2 separate regions of the Homo sapiens genome follow, and region 1 is linked to region 2. Evidence: promoter capture Hi-C in human tissues and cell types (Jung and others, 2019). All regions are on one chromosome and are shown on one strand. The core of a region is centred on a gene start or on the middle of the fragment in contact, and the rest is flanking DNA. Distances in the headings are between cores, read along the strand shown. Region 1 overlaps SHANK2 (SH3 and multiple ankyrin repeat domains 2). Region 2 holds the start of NADSYN1 (NAD synthetase 1).

The links. The method cuts DNA at HindIII sites, captures the fragments that hold promoters and counts their contacts. A contact is called where the count stands out against the background at its distance.
Region 1: a contact is called between a fragment that was not itself captured here and the fragment with the promoter of NADSYN1 in region 2, in 1 of the 25 tissues and cell types used here (H1 embryonic stem cells).

Annotation. Positions count from the first base shown.
Region 1 is chr11:71,131,382-71,136,244 of GRCh38, reverse strand. The region is part of intron 3 of SHANK2 (SH3 and multiple ankyrin repeat domains 2); the gene reads left to right. Among named protein-coding and RNA genes, the nearest start is that of SHANK2, 120 kb to the left of the region's middle. The HindIII fragment of the contact is 6,307 bases long and covers 1-4,863 here.
Region 2 is chr11:71,450,019-71,454,939 of GRCh38, reverse strand. NADSYN1 (NAD synthetase 1) reads right to left here and starts at 1,737. Exons shown (of 21, transcript NM_018161.5): 1 at 1,559-1,737. The coding sequence starts at 1,643. It overlaps DHCR7-DT (DHCR7 divergent transcript), which reads right to left. Exons shown (of 2, transcript NR_186309.1): 2 at 2,783-3,250. RefSeq lists enhancers at 580-1,079, 1,080-1,581, 2,819-2,898, 3,019-3,068 and a silencer at 1,639-2,008. The HindIII fragment of the contact is 4,997 bases long and covers 1-3,230 here.

The DNA of each region.
Region 1 (4,863 bases), core at 1,057-3,556, 320 kb after region 2:
GCTGAAGCATGACAGCTTTGAGGTCCATCCCCAGGGTGGCGTTTAGCAGAGCCCTGTTGAGCCTTGTTCTGATTCTCATCATCTTGCATGGAGGGACCACATCTTGTGGATCCATTCCCACTCAATGGTCAGCTGGATTCTTTCCACTTTTTCGCCGTGGGGACCATCTTTGATTCAGCCGTCGCAACCAGAATGTAGGCGTCCTCCTGAGCTTCCATCTCTACAGCTCCTATAGCCAGTCCCTCCCTAAGTCTGGTCACTGTACCTTCTAGACCCCCGCAAGCCTGTGTTGTTCCCTCAGCCTTCATCACCACCCCACCTTTCCTGTCATCTTCCTCTTGGGCAACCAGAACAGCTTCAGACCAGACTGTCAGAAGTTCTCTAGGTGAGGCCTTGGGTGGTTGTGTACATGTGAACACCGTGGCCACCGCTGAGCCCAGCCCTCCTGTGACTTCTTCCCGGTCTGAGGATAAAAATCAGGTCCTCCCCGGCTGGGCACGGTGGCTCATGCCTGTAATCCCAGCACTTTGGGAGGCTGAGGCAGGTGGATCACCTGAGGTCAGGAGTCCGAGACCAGCCTGGCCAACATGGTGAAACCCCATCTTTACTGAAAATACAAACATTACCTGGGTGTGGTGGCTGAGGCACGAGAATTGCTTGAACCTGGGAGGTGGAGGTTGCAGTGAGCTGAGATTGTGCCATTGCACTCCAGCCTGGGTGACAAAAGTGAGACTCCATCTCAAAAAAAAAAAAAAAAAAAAACATATCCCCCCTAGTCTGGGCACACACCTATTGGAAGTGTGCAAGTCAGTGGATTCTTTTTCCTGAGGATTCCATGGCTCCATGGCTTCTCCTCGGTCTCTTTGTTTACAGGGGGATTTCACAGCTAAGCGCCTGGGGGGCAGCTGGGCAGCAATTCCGCTCCACAAGGACACCTAGTGCAGGCTCTGCTCATCCTTGTACCCCATCAGCCGGTACAACCGAGTGAATGCTGGGTATCTGGCTATGGAGTGAGTGAATTCATTTAAACCCTTGCCTCTGTGGGGTGAGGCGCCAATGGCTGTACAGAGCCTCAGAGGATGGGAGAGGGTCTTTGCTTGGAATCTTCTAGGGTGAGGGTCTTCAGGGACAGCCAGCCTGAGGTATGCACAAACTTGGTGTGTTGGCTCAGCAGAGAAGGCTGAGGGCTGCGGGAGCAGTGTGTGTGAGGCAGCAGAGGTGGGCGGTGGGCGTCCAGGTATAGGGTCATGACAAGGAGGCCATGGTTGTATTTGATGGGCAGAGGTTTGGTACAGAGCATGTGACATCGTTTATATTTGAAAAGGGTAATCTTGGCCTCTCTGGTGAGAGGAGAAGGATTAGAAGAGATGGGGGCTCCAGGTAAATGGTGCTGGAGGCTGGGACCCTGGGAAGTGCAGGGAAAGCTGGAGACCCACAGACGCTTCCCTATGACAAAGCCAGTGGGGCTGTCCTGGAGAGAGGGTTTAAGATGTGAGGCCTGCGTCTTTGCAGTTTCTCAGCTCATGCCTGTAATCCCAGCACTTTGGGAGGCCGAGGCGGGTGGAGTATTTGAGGTCAAGAGTTTGTGACCAGCCTGGCCAACATGGTGAAACTCCATCTCTACTAAAGATACAAAAATTAGCCAGGTGTGGTGATGCACGCCTATAATCCCAGCTACTCAGGAGGCTGAGGCAGGAGAATTGCTTGAACCTGGGAGGTGGAGGTTGCAGTGAGCCGAGATCGTGCCACTGTACTCCAGCCTGGGCGACAGAGCAAGACTCCGTCTCAAAAAAAAAAAAAAAAAATTGAGATGTAATATACATGCCATATAATTCACCCATTGGAAGTGTGCAAGTCGTTGGATTTTAGGAAATTCACGGATGAGTGAGCCCATCACCACTGTGAATCTCAGGAAGCTTCCATCCCCCCAAGAGGAAACCCCACCCCTGTTGGCAGTCACTTCCCCTTTCCCCCTCTCCCCTCCCCAGATGCCTGCTCTGGCCATCGTCAGTGATGGGGTGGCACCGCACGTGGACTGAGAGGGAAGCCTTGTCTCAGTTCTTTGCCTCTCCTGCTGGAGATGAGCCCCTCCCCTCCCACCTGTGCTGTGTCCAGTGCCCACTCCGGGCCTCCTGCCACGGAGGAGCTTTCTGCACTGTCAAGTCACCCAGTCCACCGAGAAAGGTAAAAGCTCTTTTATCCACGAATGTAGCCGGGTGCAGTGGTGCACAACTGTAATCCCAGCTACTCAGAAGGCTCAGGCAGGGGGATCACCTGGGCAACGTAATGAGACCCCTTCCCTAAAAAAAAAAAAAAAATACATAGTTTTCCTTTGGGCTGCCCTTTCAGTTTCAGATGTTTTGTTCCAGAATGTTCTCTCCCAGTTGCTTGTTAGCTAAATGAAATTCTTCTGGGATTATAGACTTAATTAGAAGTTTAGGTATATGTTGCCTTGACATGAGCACATTTTCTGCCCTAAAAGAAAAGTCATCAAAAAGGACTTGGGCAGAAGATGGTAACATGATAATGGTCTTTATTCAAAAACTTTGAGTCCATGGAGTGTGGCCCAACACTGACTCCAGCCTAACCAGGGAGGCCCCCTAGACCACCCCTCCACTCTACGCTTCCACCCACCTACCCACCCATCCCCTGACCCTCCAATCCATCCACATCCCCCCTCCACTCACTCATCCGTCTATCTATCCATCCAGCCAGCCAGCCTGCCTGCCTGTCTGCCTGCCATCCATCCGTCCGTCCATCCCTCTGTCTCTCTCTCCCTCCCTCCCTCCGTCTGTCCGTCCGTCCCTCCCTCCCTCCCTCCATCTGTCCATCCATCCTTCCCTCCATCTGTGCATCCACCCAGCCACCCACCTACCCAGCCAGCCAGCCAGCCAGCCATGCATCCTCCCAGCCACCCACCTACCCAGCCAGCCAGCCAGCCAGCCAGCCAGCCGTCCGGCCGGCCATCCATCCATCCATCCATCCATCCATCCATCCATCCATCCATTCATCTGTGCATCCACCCAGCCACCCACCTACCCAGCCACCCATCCATGCATCCACTCATCCTCCTACCCACCTCACCCCTCCCTCCCTCCCTCCATCCACTCATTCACCCATCTATCCATTCTCTTGATTATAGAAATACATGGTTAGGATCTTTGGTCTCCACTTTGAGTAGCCCCGCCATGTCCTTTGTAGTATGCATTTGGATTACCTCTTGGGGAGGTAGAAGGCATGGAATCTGATTGTGGTTTCATTAACTGGTTGCTAAGACCAAAGAGAGTGCTGCTCCCCAGCCCCTCAGCCTTCCCTCTGCCTCCACTGTCTCTGTAATACAACAATGAAAACTAGCCTACCTGTCCTTAAGAGGAGTGGTTTACACTTGACTATTTTAGTCAAGAAACTGGTGAGTTACAAATTGTTTAGAAAAAAAGGGAAGGCTGTGGGGCCTTCCAATGAAAGTTGCCATGGAAAGTCAAGCCTTGATCATATTGGTTATTATTCACGTCACAGGGCATCCTCGATAAAGGCAGAGAAGGACTTTGTTTTCTTACACGTCATTTAAAGCAAATATTGTAAGGATTATATGTGGACCCTTCCTCTGTTACGTATTGGGTTCGTGCTTTGTATATGGGAGAGATTGGCCCAGTTTGCAGGGTCTCCGTAGCCTGCACATAAAACGTCTTGACTTGAGGTGCTCTTCATCGTTGGCTTAGAGTTAATGCCTACTTAAATCTCATGGAGAAAACAATGTACGGGAAAAGTGACTTTGGTCTGGAATTACTACAAGTTCTGTAGCAAAGCTCTGTAAATCCCACAGTGTAGGGGGAGTATTGTGGTTTGGGGCCATGCTGGTGAGGAGCAGCCGTCCCCTCTTTGCTGGCATCCCAAGCTGGTAAGGCTTATCCAGAGGGTGGCAATACCAGGGCCGCAGATCATCAGTTTTTACTTTTCTGTGTTAAATCCAAGGGTGAGGCTTTTTTCCAGCATCTTTGCTCTGAGGTTGGACCTGGGCGATTCCTCCAGCCTGGCTCCGACTCTGCCTCCCCGCCAGCCTCCACCCTTCCCTCGCTGCTCTCCCTTCTGGGCGGACAAGGCCTCCCACACCACAGCTTCTGAGCAGCATCTGCGTCCCGGCAGCAGCCTCACCTGCCTCTGTGGCCTCGTCGCTAATCCACTTTCTGACCTCCTGCTGGCTTAATCTTCCTGACTCATGGCTCCGTCTGTGTGCTGCCAGGATCGAGTTGGACTCATTAGCTCGGCCTCGGGGACCCCCTTAATCCCTGCTCCTCCTCTTGCAGCTGTGTGGCTCTGGGAATGATCTGGCATTTTTGGAGCATTCCTCTTTGGGCCTGGGGGTGCTAATGCGGCCTCCCGGAGAACATAAGGAAGAGATGATGTGTTTAACATGCTTACGAGCCAGGCTATGGGCACATAGTAAGTGTTTTGTGTCTGCAGTCAGGACTTTTTAATTATAACCCCCCTTCCATGGCTGACTTACTTCACTTCAATTTATTGCTTCTAAAGGGACTTCTCTGGCCAGCATCTGATCTCTGCTTTACAATGGCTCTGCCTGAAATCATGGCTATGAAAAGAGGAAGATTAAGTCACCCCCAAGGAGTCCATGGACCACTGGCAGAACCAAGCAGTGTCTCCCAGTTTAGCATCACCTTGACAATAGCAGAGACAGACAGGCAGCCTCTTACTAATCGCCTGGAGATACAGTCTGCCCACCGCTTCGCCACAGCATCCAGCGGCTGCCATGAAGCTTTCACTGTGCGAAAAATGTTCTGATTGGAAAAACGAATCCACAGCTCCGTTACCCTTTATTGGCGTTTAAACATGCAGAAGCACTAAGCC
Region 2 (4,921 bases), core at 488-2,987:
GCAGCAGAGGGCAGCATACACCTGTATACACCTGTATACACGAGTACGCCTGCACCTGCTTATACTTGCATATACCTGCTTATATCTGCAGGAAATGAGAAACAGGGAGGGCTTGCAGGTCTGACCCTTAGCACCATGGAGGAGGCGGAGGAAGAGGAAGAAGTCAGACCCTGGTAGTTTATTAACAAGGAAATGCCCAACACCATCTAGAGGAAAAAGGACTTAGAGGATTACGATCCAGCAGTGGTGCCACTGTCAGGCACCATCGGCTTACTGGTCTTGGGCAGCAGCTTCCAACAAGCACCTAGGGAGGAGAGGCTGGCAGAGTGGAAACTTAGTTTTGGCCAAGCCTTCTTCAGTTCAACTAGATTTGCTCTGAGCAAATGAGGTGAAAGCAGGTTGATATTTAAAAAATAAAAATAAAAAACCACTGGCTGCGGTGGCTCATGCCTGGAATCCCAGCACTTTGGGAGGCCAAGGCAGGTGGATCACTTGAGGTCAGGAGTTCGAGGCCAGCATGGCCACCATGGTGAAACCTTGTCTCTACTAAAAATACAGAAATTGGCCATGCATGGTGGCAGACGCCTGTAATCCCAGCTACTCAGGAGGCTGAGGCAGGAGAATCGCTTGAGCCCAGGAGGCAGAGACTGCAGTGAGCCAAGATGACACCACTGCACTCCAGCCAGGGCAACAGAGTGACAGTCCATGTCAAATAATAATAATCATAATAATAATCCAGGGCACATACTGATTAGATGCCATCTCTTGAAACATTCTGTTTCTATTGTTCCTGGCAAAGGCTCTTGCAGTCAGCAGACCAGTGCAAGACAAGCTGCAACCTGACTACACCTGCAGGCTTGCCCATTTAGGTGCAGGTGTAATAGTTTAACTTTTCATCCTCCACGGTGCGTCCATATGAACGAAAATTAGATGGTGACCTTTCAACAACCACACCCTATCTTCGAGGCCACCACGCCCGGCTGATTTTTGTATTTTTAGTAGAGACGGTGTTTCACCATGATGGCCAGGCTGGTCTTGAACTCCTGACCTCAGGTGACTTCCACCCCCTCCGGCCCCCCCAAAATGCTGGGATGACAGGCGTCTTTTTCTACTTCCCTTTCTGGGACGCCTTCTCCCACCAGGAAGGCCCACGGGGACCAGAGACCATCAATCTCTGGCCTCTGCACACCATCCCCGCCAGTGCGCAGCCATTCTGTTCAACTTAGATATCTCCGAGAATGGGCAGCTCAGTCCCAACCACGGGACCCCAGAGATATCAGAACACGGGTCCATCCCCAGGCCTCCCGCCTAAGCCGCCAGACTTTTCTTAACCGTGCCTTGTATATCGCTCGTCCCCGGGAACTATAAACACTCACTTCCCGACGAGGACCTGAGCACGTACCACTGGCGGGGTCATTGCCCATTATCTCACCTGATCCCATGCCCAGGGCCGAGAGTTTCCCAGGGCAAGGCTGTGAGCACGCCACGGGCAAGCCTGGGCCCAGCCACGGTGCCCGTGCGCCACCCCAAACCGGTGCCCCCGCCGCCCCAGACTCACTCTTTAAAATTCTTTGCAAATTGCCCTCGAAGTCCAGGGCCCACTGGTTGAGTGCGCAGGTGGCCACGGTCACCTTCCGGCCCATCCTGGCCGCAGTCGCTTGGGCAGGAGGCCAGCGGGGGACAGCAAGACCAGGGTCCCAGCGAGGTAGGCGGCTGGGACGCCGGACCTTCCGGGTTGCCCGGCCCCGCCCCCTCCCCGCCCATCCGTTGAGGCTCCGGCCAAGGAGGACTGCGGCGTCAGGCCCTGCCTACGGATCGCCCCGCCCCGTCTGAGGAGCTCACGACCGCGCCTGCGCAGCGAGGTGGCCTCAGCGTTCACGGCACCGCGAAGGGCCCCGCCCCCGCCCCGGCTCCACCCACGTCCCAGGCCCCGGCCCCGGCCCGGCCCTTGCGGGCAAACCCGTTCAGGTGCACAGGTGCAGGGGGCTCACCGCCCAGCTGCAGCACCCCTCTATTTTATCCCACACCGCCACCCCACATCCAGCTTAGCCATGTTTTATTTTAATACGGCATGAAACGTTCCAAATACACCAAAAGTGGAGAGTACGGTAGGAGCGCTCCATCGTGCCCGCGGGACAGCAGACGATAGCAATCGATTCTCCGTGCTGGGAATCCCGCCACCCTGGGCGGATGGCGCTGAATTCTTGGGAACCCTCTCCTGCCCCTTTCACTCCTGTACCACGTGTGTAAGTAGCTCAGGTAGCGCACTGTTTGCCTTTTCTGAAACTACAGGAACTGCACTTGAATGTGCTTCTGCAACTTGATTTTTTCCCCTGTAATATGAGATACGTTCTTTTAATTATTTTTCTGCAGTTTGGTATTCCATAGTGGCAGTAAAGCAGGTTTATTCAATAGCGGATGGGCATTGACGTTATTAGCAGCGTTTTGCCAACAGACGCACGCACACAGGCACTGCTGCAATTTCCTTTCCGGCAAGGTTTCCTTCGTGACCTCGTTCCGCCAGTTCCTGCAGCAGCTTTGCAGAGTAGTAGGGTTCGTGCTGTTTGACTTTACTAAATATTGCCAAGTCTCTTCTCCAGGGCGCTTGCACCGATTCACTACCAGCGGTTTCTCACTTTTTATTTTTTCACATTTCCTCTTTAGTCCACCCACGGTAGAATCCATTTTTCCCCCATATAAATAACTGCCTCATCATCGTTGCTTGAAGAGGCCATCCTTCCTTCTGTCATTCATGTTAGTTTAAAAACACACAATTCACAAATTTGGAAAAAGAGAAGGCTTTATTTCTTGTAAACGGTCGTAGCCTGCAAGGTGGCGGCCATCTGTCTGAGGCTGGGAATCTGTCTCCAGCCAAGGCCAGAGACAGGCACGTCCAAGGAGGAGGGGTTGGGGCAGGAGCGCTATGCTGAAGGGATTGGCTAAACATACATATTCAACAGGTAACAGGAGGAGCTATGAATATTCATGAAGGTGGTCCTGACACATGCCCTCTTATTGAGCAAAGCATGTAATATATGACCCATGTTCACTTTGGGGTGGAGACTTAACATTTACACATCTTACAATTAGGGCCTTTATGGCAAAACGTCTTTTCAGGACACAAAGGCATGCAGGTGCATCATCTCTCTCTATTAACGGGTCAGCTGGTCGGCATGGTCAGCTGGTCGGTGGTCTCTTATTAGGAGAAAGTCACTGAAATCAGTCTCTTGTCCAATCACAGCTGCTATGGCTGGTGAAACAGAGTCAGTTAGTTGGCACCTAGTGGAGCTGCAATTGTTTTAATATTCCCTATCCCAAGGCTAGTGTGTGTTTGGCTAATAGAGAAACAGAAAGCCTTGTGGCTCTTAGAATATAGTTTATTCTCTAAGTGTGGGTTGCCTGACTTACCCTCGCCTAGCATGGCTTTGGGTCCTGTTTATAATTTGGTATCTTATTGCCACAGAGTCCGTTCTGTCAGTCTTACGATCTCTGTTTTAACATGAATGCCGGCCAGTTGTGGTGTCCAAACTCTGAAACAGGGGGCTATTACCAGGCGCATCTGACCTCCCATCCCATCATGTCTGGGAATTCAGTGTTGAGGTTTTTCTGGTGTCCCCTTGGTCAGGAGAAGGTCCCTTTGGTCAATGGGGGGCTTAGGATTTTATTTTTACCTTATGTACATATACCCGTTTTCACATTTTGAATCACTTTTTTTCCTGTCTATAAAGTAGTGCTTGTTCATGACAATTTGGAAACTCCACAAAAGCACCAGAATGTTATACATGCTAACTTATTTAATCCTCACAGTAGTTTTCATGCTTCTGAAATCCACACGATCTGCTCAAATTATCTCCTGCCAACAATGGCTGATGCCAGGCCTGGGCAGAGAAGGGGAGGATCCTTGAACATCTGGTTGTCCCAGAAAATAAGTAAGTACTCAAAGGATGGTAGATACATGTCATATGAAAAAAGAAGCCAATTTGAAGGGGCTCCCGTTAGCTAAATACAGGACAATACAGTAAGGATCATAACTCGGTCAGCTAAATCCATTAGGGCATACTGATAAAAAATAAATCAAAGAGGAAATCCCTACAGAAGAATGCTTGCTAATAAATAATTTATTAATAAATGTTGAGGGAATGATAAAATTAGAAAATTAACACTTTGTCCCAAGAAATAAGGGATTCAGGCAAGATTCCTCATTAAATGCTAGTTCACTGGGTGAAAGGTCATTTGGGAACAGCATATTTACAGTCTCAAAGTATCACTGCACCAATTACTCATTAATAACAAAAGGAAAAATGGAGACTTCTGGCAGAAACCACGGAGCCCCACTATCAATCATGGAGCACAGTGATATGTTGTCTTAAAAAAGAAAATTTTAGGACTCTTGAAATTTATTAGGTCAACTTGGGCAACAGAGCAAGATCCTGTCTTTAAATAAATAAATAAAAATAAATAAATTTATTATGTCAAGAGGGAAGTTAAGTCCTAGAAACTGGGTCACATAGCATGTTTGTAATTTTGTCTTTTAGATTATAGGCTGTTTTTCTTTATCATTCATGTTTTATAAATGACTAGGAGAGACCACAGACCAGGCCTGCTCCCCTTTTAATTACTGATCTTTATTATAGATTGTCTCTTATTATCCCGTACTTAGACCAGACTCCTACATCTTCAGTGTAAAATGTTAAATATACCTTCCACCTAAAAAAGACCACCTCAGCTGGTCAGATTATAACTTTATGCATAAAAAGATGTTAAAATTCTGTTAAACTTCCCTAAAATTTGTCTACATAAATGATCCCAAACATCTACAGTTCAAAATACTGATTTCCATTCTTTAAAATCTGTGCTTCCCAGGCAGCCTGTCCTCAAACTTTATACACTTAAATAAACTCTCTTTAAGCTAAATTCTGAC